2 separate regions of the Homo sapiens genome follow, and region 2 is linked to region 1. Evidence: promoter capture Hi-C in 16 types of primary human blood cells and fetal thymus (Javierre and others, 2016). All regions are on one chromosome and are shown on one strand. Each heading gives the region's core, a stretch centred on a gene start or on the middle of the fragment in contact. The rest is flanking DNA. Distances are from core to core; before and after follow the strand shown. Region 1 holds the start of UMODL1-AS1 (UMODL1 antisense RNA 1). Region 2 overlaps C2CD2 (C2 calcium dependent domain containing 2).

Region 1 (5,863 bases), core at 1,348-3,847:
GTTCAGTGGTCCTGCAGAAGTTATTAAGCTCCTTCTGCAGGCTCTTGCCCGGCAGGGTCCCGGGCAGGCTGTGGCCTGCTTCCTCCACATTTCAGAGCTGAGGTGCTGGTGCGGGCAGGTCTCCTGAGCTGGGGGGTCAGCTGTGTGGCCAGTGATGGTGACGCCTCAGGCCGTGCATGGCCGGGGAGGCGGCCCTGCCTCTGCACTCTTTTGACTCCATGACTACTGGTGTCTTCGGACGCCAGAGTCGGGGGAGCAACCATGGGGCACCGCCCCTGCCTGGGGAGGCAGCACGAGGCCTGAGCCCAGCTTACAGGGGGACATCCACCCCCGCTGAGAGCCCCACCTTCACGGCGAGGATCTGTAGAAGAAGACATTTGATATTACTCGGCAAAAAAAACAAGAAACGAAAACACAAAAAGAGCTCCTCTGAAGAAGAAAAGGTATTTGCGCTGTGGTCCACCTAGAAATAATGTTGTTGGCACAACTAGAGCATTCCTCAGTCATTCAGGAGCACTCCCTGCCGGTGCGTCCACATGTCCCAACCCCGATAGATGAGGCGCTGTTCGCCCGTGGAGGGGTCAGGTTGTCGTGACCTTATCTTTACCCTTAGGCCGTCCATCCCGGGGCCTGGGGTTTCCTGCGCCAGTCACGGTGGGCTGTGTAGGTGGCCATGTGTTCGGTCTTTCCCCAGGAGGTACGTACCATGTGCTGGGAGGCCTGGAGGCTGAGCCGCCCCCCGCGCCTATGAGTTGCACCCTCACAGCGGCGGCCAAACCTCCTGCTCACTTTGCCCCATAGGAAGAGGTTAGAGTGAGGCGGAACGGGTTGGAATCCCAGCTCTGACACTCACTCACTGTGGGATGCTGCACAAATGACTTCCTCTCCCTGGGCCTCAGTATACTCATCTGTGGAATGAGATTACAGCAACATCCCACCTCCTATGGCGATGGAGTAAATTAAGGCACAATGCCTGTGTGGGTTTAGCCCAGTGCCTGTGCATGGCGACAGTGCATTTCTGATGGCCCCTCCAGCGTTCAGGGCTAACTCTTCCAGGATTAACTTTCATATCTTGGATGAGAGCTCATCTAGGAAGGTCTCCTAGCAACCCCTGGGTTCCCACTGGTCCTTCCGCCTCACGGGGCTCCTTTTTGAACCCCTCACATCATTTCCATTCAATCTCTTGCTCCTAACAGCACGGCCCCTATTCCTTCTCTTTCCCAACATCTGCTCTCAGGAGAGATTCTCATACAGTGTGCATTTGTTCTAGAGTGAGGGTCATCACTGGGCTTCTATGAGGCACCGCTGTGAACCCTCTGCACCGACCTTAGCCAGAGGAGCAGGACTCCCACCGGCATCCTTCTGCGTAAGAGGCCTTGTGGGTCTTCTGGGGCTCTGGAATCAACGCCGCTTTTCCTGGGGCCAGAGTAGGTGGAGCTGAGCTCCCCAAAGCTTCCAGTTTGCTGCCTGCTCCCACCCGCCTCGCCACTGCGCGAGCCCTTTCCATCCCCTCTGCAGAGTGAGAGAAGGGCCGTGAGTGAGGATCCTGGCCTAGGGCTGTCACCATCCCCCTCACCTGCTGGCCAGGCTAACCTACTGCAGGCTGCTTCCTTTCCTTAGGTTCACGGGTACCGCTATTTGTCCAGCGTCCATTTGCGGTGGCATTAGGATGAGGTGCTCTGTGCCCTCTTTCTCCCAGTGTGAATCTGACACACGCCCCCAGGAGAGTCCGAGGGGCATCACTTCTGGAGGACGCCCTGGGCCCTGAAAGACAGCTCATGGTCCAACTGAGGAGCCTGCACCTTGCTGGGACAGGGTGGCCCAGGAGATCTGGGGTCTGTACCTGCTCCTGGACCCTCTCCAGCTTGTTGTTCTGGGTGGGGCCAGCTCAGGAGGGGCACCTGGGCTGGGAGTCTCTGAAGCAGCTGCCCCCATTGCTCCAGGAGAGGGCTCAGCCCTTGTCCCAGCTGCGGGGCCAGTGGGAGCAGTGTGCAGCGTCCTGCCCTGGGCTCTCGCTGGCTCTGCGCCCTCGCCTGGCCAGCCCGGGAGGGTGCAGAGGCTCACTGGCAGCTCTTCCTGCTCCCACACCTGCCTCTTCCTCTGAACTGGAGGGCCGGCAAGCCTCAAGGCTTAATGCAAGACTAAATACAGCTGTCAGCGCCTTCCTCTGAGCTCGCTTGGGAGCTGTCTGGGGGGACGGAGGAGTGAAGATTAGGTGAATCACCACGCCCCAAAATAGACATCAGGTGCTTGGTGGTTTGAGCCAGCGTCTTGCCTGGTGCCTCTGCTGTCCTCCGTGGACTGCAGCCCAGCCAGCCTAGGCTCCAACCCCAACCCGGAGCACCCCCAGGAGAGTTACCTGTAGGCTGGAGGTTGAGTAGCACCCCAGGAAGAGGTGTGGGTTGGCACCAGCAGTGTTCTGATGGCAAGGCAGCCCCCAGGCCATGCTAGGGTGGTGGCATAGCTGTTGTGGCAGCTGACGAGCTTGCTGTTCTCCAGGGAAGCTGCTTCTGTGGAGACCGCAGGAAGCACAACAGAAAAAAACCCACAAAACGAGCCTCAGAGCACTCAGCAGCAGGGTTTTCTTTGCCCAGAACTGAACTGGTCCTGCATCGTGGCTTAAATTCCACCTGAATTGGAACTTCTCTGGCATGCCGGGTGTGGGTTCGTTCCCGAGCACCTCCACCCGCAGCTCTACAGAAGCACGCGCAGAAGGCACTGTCACCTCCAGCAGGGCCTGGCCCTGACGACCTCGGCTCAGCCACCCCATGGGAGCTACATTGTCCTTGTCCTCACCTTCATTCCCCTCAGGCGGGCCCCCCGGTGACATGACATCACAAGTCTTTGGGCACAGGAGGAGGGACATACCTGTGGAGACACCCGGGTGCTCTAGAATATGGCGCGGGAAGTTCATGTTGTACTCCGCTGGACCCCACCCCCGGCGTGGGAAGTTCATGTTGTACTCAGGCTGACCCCCACCCCCCCCACGAGAGAAGTCCATGTTATACTCAGGCTGACCCCCACTCCTGGCATGTAAAGCTGGTGTTATGCTCAGCTGGACCCCCACCCCCGGTGTGGAAAGCTCATGTTATACTCCACTGGCCCCCACCCCCGGCGTGGAAAGCTGGTGTTATACTCCGCTGGACCCCCACCCCCGGCGTGGAAAGCTGGTGTTATACTCCGCTGGACCCCCACCCCCCATGCGGAAAGTTCACGTTATACTCAGCTGTGTCCCCACCCCTGGCTCAGTTACTTTCCTATTTCTTGGTTGAGACACTAAGTATTGGAGAATGTTGGCACATCAAAGAGAGAGGAGAAAACATTTCAAGTTTTGGGTGTGGAAACAGAATAAAGAAGAGAGGGCTACATGCACACCCATGGGTGCTAATATTTAAGGAATGAACATTTCCTAATCTTTGCCCCCAAATAAGCCAACCAATGTGAAGGTGGGCACAGGCAGGCCGTAAGGTTGTCATGAGAGTGTTGGACGGATGCCCCAAAATGCCCCTGCTCCCGGCCGTTCACTGCAAAGACGGCTAGGAAGGACTCCTTCCAGCATGGGTCTGTCTTCTGATCACTCTTTGGCTGTTTTCTCATGGGTTTTGATTGTGTCTCCCCCTGGCAGACTGGGACGAGTGTGTGGACAGCGCGGAACACGACTGCTCACCGGCTGCCTGGTGCATCAACCTGGAGGGCTCCTACACCTGCCAGTGCCGTACCACCAGGGACGCCACCCCCTCCCGCGCAGGCCGGGCCTGTGAGGGTACGTGTCGACCCCCCTGCCGACTCTGGGAAGACCCCCTGCCCGAGAATCTGGGGGTGGGGCAAAGCCCAATTCTCCATAGGCACAGGGCTGAGGACCTATGGTAATGTTAGGGGCCTACAGAAATGTTTTCATTTCAATTTATTTTAAAATCAGAAGAAAGAAATTAATAGAAGGATAGTAAATATACATAAAACAATGAATCTAGCTTGGATTACACTCATCTCTATCTAAATGCCATTATAAAATGTAATTTTTGATAGATTGTTAAGTGGAGGGGTGCAGGGGTCCATGAAGGCCAAGTTCCTTGGGCCCACAGAAGTCAGGATGCAGCCCGGGGTCGAGGGATTCCTTCCCCAGTGGCCTGGAGCCCGAGAGGGTGTGGCCTGGAGCCCGAGACAGTGTGGAAGCCCAGAGAAGCTGCAGAGAGGCCCGATGGGGGCCGCTGAGCTCTAGTCCTGCTGTATCGGCCCCCAGTCTTTTCTGTGGACCAGTTCTGATGAGTGGGTCGGGGATACCTGGGATGCTGAATTGAGCAGCAGGAGGAGGCCACGTAGGGACCTAAAATGCAGTGACTGATTAGCAATGTCGGCCCGGACACAGGCGTGGCAGAGGCGCCCAGCCACTGGCTTGCCAGCCCCTGCTGAGGGCTTTCTAGCTGGAAGGAGCAGCCGAGACCAGTTCCCTGGGGAGAATATTCCTTAGACACTGCGTGTGCTGTCCTGCTTCCTAACATCCCACACCTTGTCTTCTGTTTTTCTCATTCGCCTAATGTCCTGCAAGTCGATGACAGCATCCAGCACCAAGTCCCACATTGAGCACAAATCTGGGGGAAATTGTCCCATTTTCCCAGAGTCCTGATGGATTAATCTGAGGCCTATGAGAACCAAGCCCTGCATTCAAGCCCGGGTTTTGTAGCCCCCCGGGTGGATCCCTCACCCTCAACTTCAGTTTCCTCATTTATCCAGTGGAGAGGCGTGATTTGCCTTCAGAGAGCCCCGGGGAGGCTGCAAACATGGGCCCAGGAAACACTCCTGAACGCTGGCGCCCGCCTGCGTCCCTGGCCAGGTCCACTCCGGGATGCAGAGCAGTCCTGCTGGACGGCCATGCTGCCCTCCTGGGAGGGCTCTTACTCGTGGGTGGGATCCAGCAGGCTCTGACAGTGGATGTGTCTTGGCAGGTGACCTGGTGAGCCCCATGGGCGGTGGACTGTCTGCGGCAACAGGGGTAACGGTCCCAGGTCTTGGCACGGGAACAGCAGCCCTCGGCCTAGAGAACTTCACCTTGTCACCCAGTCCTGGGTACCCTCAGGGCACCCCGGCAGCAGGCCAGGCCTGGACCCCAGAGCCCTCACCCAGAAGAGGGGGCAGCAATGTGGTCGGGTATGACAGGAACAACACAGGAAAAGGCGTGGAGCAGGAGGTGCCCAGCACTGCCCCGGGTCTGGGGATGGACCAGGGGAGCCCCAGCCAGGTGAACCCCAGCCAGGGGAGCCCCAGCCAGGGGAGCCTCAGACAGGAGAGTACCAGCCAGGCGAGCCCCAGCCAGAGGAGCACCAGCCAGGGGAGCCCCAGCCAGGTGAACCCCAGCCAGCGGAGCACCAGCCACGCGAACTCCAGCCAGGGGAGCCCCAGCCAGGGGAGCCCCAGCCAGGAGAGCCCCAGCCAGGGGAGCACCAGCCAGGCGAGCCCCAGCCATAGGAACACTATCGGGGTGATAGGCACCACCTCCTCCCCGAAGGCTACTGGGTCAACCCACAGCTTCCCTCCTGGGGCCACAGATGGCCCACTGGCCCTCCCTGGACAGCTACAGGGAAACTCCATCATGGAGCCACCCTCCTGGCCTTCCCCTACTGAGGACCCCACCGGCCACTTCCTGTGGCATGCCACCCGTTCCACCCGGGAAACACTTCTGAATCCCACGTGGCTGCGAAATGAGGACAGTGGACCCTCCGGTTCTGTAGACCTGCCATTGACCTCCACCCTCACAGCTCTGAAGACCCCCGCCTGTGGTGAGTTCCTCGAATGGTGCATGGGGACTAGGACTAATAGGACCCATAGCCTGTGTGAGCCTCTGGGGCAAAGCTCCTGCAGCCGTGGA
Region 2 (5,863 bases), core at 1,810-4,309, 220 kb before region 1:
CATGCTTCACATTTGCTTACATACCCACAAATTAGGGGATGATGTATCTGGACTGTCTAGTAGAACTTTATCATAGGAGTATGTAGATTTTCCATGGAGTGCTGTTGTGTGACTTGAATTTTAGTCTTGGCCCTGCCTCTGACTTCCTCAGTGATTTATCCTGGTTCCAGGGAAGGAGACCAGCCTTTTCCTCATGCTAGTCTTTGGTGGTTTTTAAACATTTGTTTAACTCAACAAATGAAATGTATCATATGCCTGACACCGCTACACCAGTTTTTTTACATATAAAATTGTTAAAAATTTTTGGCCAGGTGCGGTGGCTCACGCCTGTAATTCCAGCACTTTGAGAGGCCAAGGCTGGTGGATCATTTGAGGTCAGGAGTTTGAGACCAGCCTGGCCAATGTGGTGAAACCCCATCTCTACTAAAAATACAAAAATTAGCCGGGCATGGTGGCGGGTGCCTGTAATCCCAGCTACTCGGGAGGCTGAGGCAGGAGAATCACTTGAACCTGGGAGGCGGAGGTTGCAGTGAGTCGAGATCACGCCATTACACTCCAGCCTGGATGACGAGAGCGAGACTCCTTCTCAAAACAAAACAAAACAAAAAAACATATAGGACCATAGTCCTTAATCTCTCCAATCGACACAGGCAGAGCCAGAGACTCACGGCTGTGAGCAGAGGTTCTCCAGGCAAACAGCCAGTGCTCAAATTCTGGTCTAGCCAGCTGTCAGCTTGGGCAAGTTACTTAACCTCTCTGTGCCTCAGTTTCTTAACCTGTAAAGCTGAAATAGATCATGCCCCATGGAGTTGTTTCAGAGAGTATATGAGTCACTACATATAAAACTATTTGAAAAATTCTTGGCACATATTGAGTGTGCAATTATTATTAGCTATTGTTGTGATCTCAAGTCTTTCTCTAACTTTATTTATTTTATTGAGATGGAGTCTCACTCTGTTGTCCAGGCTGGAGTGTGTGATCTCAGCTCACTGCAACCTCCGCCTCCCAGGTTCAAGCGATTCTCCTGCCTCAGCCTCCCAAGTAGCTGGGATTACAGGCATGCGCCACCAGGCCCAGCTAATTTTTGTATTTTTGGTAGAGACAGGGTTTCACCGTGTTGGCCAGACTGGTCTTGAACTCCTGACCTCAGGTGTTCCGCCCGCCTTGGCCTCCCAAAGTGCTGGAATTACAGGCGTGAGCCACCGCGCCCGGCCTATTATATAAAAGCTATGCTTGCTACCGAGCTAGACTATAAATTAATACATCCCCTGGGCTTAGTCCAGTGCTTCACCTGGTACAGCAATGATGATCACCAGCTGATAACCCTTCTATTAAGGTGCCCAACGTACCTGCACGTCCAACTTTATAAATATCGATGACATTAATATAGACCTATAAATACATAGGCAACTAGTTTTGAATGCCTGTTACAGCAGGGCGTGACTCGCAGTTTCCACTGTGGACAGTCACAGTGTGGAGCTGGGGAAGGCCAGTGGAGGAAAGCTGTTTCTAGGTCATGATTGGGAAGGAGGGCCTGGCCTTGGCAGCTTTCTCTCTAGGGGGATCACTGTGCTATGTCAGCCATCCTGGTGTCTAGCCCCCTTTGGTGAGTGATCTGCATTTTAAAAATAAACTTTATTGACATATACACACATCACCCTGTCTTTGTAGGGGTGCTAAGGTCAAAACAGCATGTGGTCATCCCCTCCAGTGTCCTGCTCAGTCCCCAGCACCAGGTCCTGGGCGATGGAGGGTGAGGTGGGTGGAAGCAAAGCTGCTGTCTGTGCTCACGTAAGGGTCATCAGCTGACCTTTGTCCTTGCTCTGCTAGGTGGGCAGTGACTGTACGAAGCCCCGGGGGATACAGGAAATGAGAGCAATGCAGGACAGTGAAGCCTGAGAGCCGGAGGCCTGGACCGTGCCGCTGCAAGCACGCCAATTCCGCAGCCTGCAGAGAAGCTCCTTCGTGGGGAAGGCAGGGCTTGAGTTGGGTTAGACCATTCGAAGAGTGAGTGTGAACTGCTGGGCACGAGGATGCACACTCCAGAATGACCGAGGGTGGTTGAGTTGGATTAATTTGGGCAGTGGAGACGCATTGGCAAACAGTGCTCATCTGGAGGTGATCAGCTTAGGAAAGTTGGTAAATTAGGACAAGCTTGGCCTCCAGCAACTCAATCCAGCCTCCTCCTGGAGCATCAGCACAAAGTGGGTCCCTCTGGCCACACAGAGGAAGCAACAGTTCAATCACTGGGTCCTGAACCACTTCTAACTCCAAACAAGAGGCACTGCCATCACCACCTTGTGGTGCCCAGGAAATGGAGCAGAAAACCTGGAACCCAGCTGGGAAGCATCGGGCTCCCTCTAAGGGTCTACACGGTGTCTAGCGAGCGGGCGGGACAGCTGAGAGGAGGGGTGGGCAGTGTGGGGACAGGAGGCTGGGCCTGTCCAGTAGCTTTCTCCAGGACACCAGCTCTCCACGTGCTCTGCTGTCTGGGCACCGCAGGGGGAATGAAGACTGAGGGAGACCACGGGAACTGATGACTAGAAAGAAGGCACGATGCCTGCATGGGGCCCGCAGGACACGTCTGTGACCCGACTCGACCGCCTCCCTCCCAGAACCACCGTGAGCCCCAGGCAAGTGCCGACGCTGTTCCACCTGTGGCTGAGCCAGGTACCTGTCCCCTCTGCATGCACCCGGGCCACCCACCGGGGTGGGGAATGGACAGTGAAGTCCAAGGATGACCTGATGAAAGGGGCGCTCAGAGAAGACCCTGGGACTTCCAGGACAGAACAGGACTCGGGAAAAACAACTCAGTGTAGTGTTCTGTGTGCACATTTATTTCTTTCAAAGATTGTTTGTGTTCCAGCCACATCTTCTCCAAAGGAACCCACCCAAGCCCGTGTGCAGGCTTGCTGCAGGGCTGTCTTCGGCGTTTAAAGTGCTACTGAGGAATACAATCATTGTCACGTAAGTTCATCACCGCACTCCAGCGTCAGGCCAAACCTTTCCGTGGACCTGGAAAACCTGCCACTTTCTTCTCTTTTTACAATGCAGTTTCGACATAACATTGGTAGAGTAAACAACAAACCACAAGCCTAAATGATGAATGGTGCGCTGCTGCCCAGCTGCTAACTGAGAGAACGAGGCAGTGTATTGTGTTTCGAATGCAAACGGTCATGGACCCAAGTTAACCTGAGTTTGCTCTGCAGGATTCCGCGGGGGCCTTGCCCTGTGCAGGCTGCTTTGGTCTTCGTGTCTAGGCCGGTTTGGGGCAGTGGGGAGAGGGCCTGGCAGCAGGGTTTACGCCAGCCCCGAGGTCTGTTTTCCGTCAGACAGAGATACGTGTCCTGCCTTCCACCATCCACCAATTTGTACTCTGAAGTTTCCAGATCAAGAGCCGTGAGATTACTACCCAGGAAACACCTGCCTTCGGTGGCCAGCAGTGTAAATTAATCTTTCCCTCTCTGCTCAAAGCAACTTTGCAACTCTCGTCTATAGAGGTGGCCAGTAAAACCCAAGCAAAAATCTAAACGGGCACCAGGTGGCCACTGAGTGGCGACTGGTCGAGTAGCAGTTGGTCATAAGGGATCAGGGCTGGTTTTGAACTCAGACTTGAAACTTGACGAAAATAAAGTGCTCTGTCAAAACTCTCACAGCAGGTTTTCAGCTGGAACAAGGAGATGGCTACTTTTTGTTATTGCTACAATAACACACGCGTGTGTGCAAACACACATAACACACACACACACTTAAAGCTCCATTTCACTCCTCCACAAAGAACAGAGGCACCTCCTTAAACAAAGCAAACGGGGAAGGGTTGCAAGCTCATTAAAACCAACATGAGCACCCAGTTCCAGAGATACAGACACAATTAATCTTAGTGTTCATGAGGAATTGTTTTTAAAACACAACTGGGCAAAACTTTCATCCAGACAAAAGCCAAAAACAAAAGCCCTCAAGCCACAAAAGCTTGTAGAAGAGGTGAGGCGATAAAGGTGATTTACACATCAGTATTTTTAGCATTTGGTGGATAATCTTAATTTATCTTTAACCTTCACAACATTTACTTTGTCATAAATACCCTACACCATGAAAAAACAAACCTGTATAAAACAGCTTGGAAAACAAACATTCACAGTATCAATACAGCCCATTTCTCACGGTGCTACCCTGAAGCTAGCCGACGTGTTGCCTTTGCCTTTGCTTCATAAACTCCCTCCCATGTTGGTGTTTTCTGTAACTTCAGAAAAGGCCATTGGATGGAGACAACGTGTGCGTGTCTACAGGAAGCAGAGCCCTAGACCTTGGTATTCAACAGTAAGCAGCGCTCATGGGATTCATCTGGAAATGGAATAGTTAAAACCTTTTTTTTTTTTTGAGAGCAAGAAGGCTTAATATAAAATCCTGGGGCCGGCCTGGTGGCTCATGCCTATAATCCCAGCACGCTGGGAGGCCAAGGTGGGTGGATCACCTGAGGTCAGGAGTTCGAGACCAGCCTGACCAACATGGTGAGACTCCATTTCTACTAAATAGAATTAGCCAGGTGTGGTGGCGCGTGCCTGTAATCCCAGCTACTTGGGAGGCTGAGGCAGGAGAATCGCTTGAACCAGGAGGTGGAGGTTGCAGTAAGCTGCCATTGCACTCCAGCCTGGGCAACAGAGTGAAACTCCATCTCGAAAAAAAAATTTTTTAAATAAAAAAAAACTTCTGATATCCTTGCACTTGAATAGAGTGCACCTGAATTCCAAAATCAAATAAAAAAGAACAATTAAAAACTTCTCATCAGTGTCTGAAATTCTGACACATAATATCCTCTTGGAATTCTTAAATATGTCTCAGCCTCTTTTTACCACATGGCAAAGAGCAGTAAAACTTCAAGTAAAACATTAAAGTGAACATCTGTCCCATCTGTCCCAAAAGACTAACAGTGATGCCTGACTTTGGGGACAGAAACTTGGTAGTATTCACATGTTTTGAAACTCCAGGTGCTTTTTTTACAATGATTAAAACTGGAATATAATTTTTAAAAACAAAGCAGGTTGGAAAAGTCATTTTAAAGTCACTTGATAATTCCTGGAACACCTAAGAAGTTTGTAATGCGCATTTTAAAGTGAAATTCCTAATGTCGTTTTCTAATCTCTCTCTCTAAAAAAGAAGAAAAAAAAATCCTATAATTTTGGTTTTTATACAGGTTTTTACTAAAAAAGAAAAAAATCCTATAATTTTGGTTTTCATATAGGTTTTTACTAAAAAAGAAAAAATCCTATAATTTTGGTTTTTATATAGGTTTTTACTAAAAAAGAAAAAAATCCTATAATTTTGGTTTTGATACCGGTTTTTACTAAAAAAGAAAAAATCCTATAATTTTGGTTTTTATATAGGTTTTTACTCACCAGTGGCTCTATTACCCCCGAAATATTTAATGTTTAAGGATTAACAAGAGGCTACGGAAGGAAGCTTGCCCATTTCCGTCTCCATGACAGAAGCCAAGCTTTCGTAACAGCCTTTTACATGTCTTTGGAGAAAAGTGAATCATATTAAACTGTCAAGAACACTTCACCCCAATGATGACTGCTCTTTGACCAGCATGTCTACTGGAAGTGGCACATTCAGAAGTGAGATCTGTGAATGAACTGAAATAGAAAGGCAACTGATGAGGAAAGCGACTGGAATGATATTAGGGATATTCAAATGGTGTGCCAGGTTTGTGATGTTTTCCACCAAAACAAACCCAAACAAGGGCACCCCAACCTGTGTCCAAGAGGACTGTTCACAGCAAAATTCTGAAGCGCTCATAGAAGGAATGTCCTGCGAGTTTGGCCCATTTGTTATTAAACTTCCATTCCTAAGACTGACACCTGAG

Evidence for each region. The method cuts DNA at HindIII sites, captures the fragments that hold promoters and counts their contacts. A CHiCAGO score of 5 or more calls a contact.
Region 2: a contact is called between a fragment that was not itself captured here and the fragment with the promoter of UMODL1-AS1 in region 1, in 9 of 17 cell types (M0 macrophages, naive CD4 T cells, M2 macrophages and 6 more). The highest score is 12.1, in M0 macrophages.

Annotation. Positions count from the first base shown.
Region 1 is chr21:42,105,937-42,111,799 of GRCh38, forward strand. It overlaps UMODL1-AS1 (UMODL1 antisense RNA 1), which reads right to left and starts at 2,598. Exons shown (of 2, transcript NR_027243.1): 1 at 2,360-2,598. It overlaps UMODL1 (uromodulin like 1), which reads left to right. Exons shown (of 23, transcript NM_001004416.3): 10 at 3,626-3,763; 11 at 4,944-5,185; 12 at 5,570-5,774. RefSeq lists an enhancer at 1,747-1,866 and a silencer at 1,843-2,137. The HindIII fragment of the contact is 14,881 bases long and covers 1,451-5,863 here.
Region 2 is chr21:41,882,296-41,888,158 of GRCh38, forward strand. C2CD2 (C2 calcium dependent domain containing 2) reads right to left here. Exons shown (of 14, transcript NM_015500.2): 14 at 2,817-5,863. Among named protein-coding and RNA genes, the nearest start is that of PRDM15, 5.9 kb to the left of the region's middle. RefSeq lists an enhancer at 3,300-3,349. The HindIII fragment of the contact is 1,815 bases long and covers 2,153-3,967 here.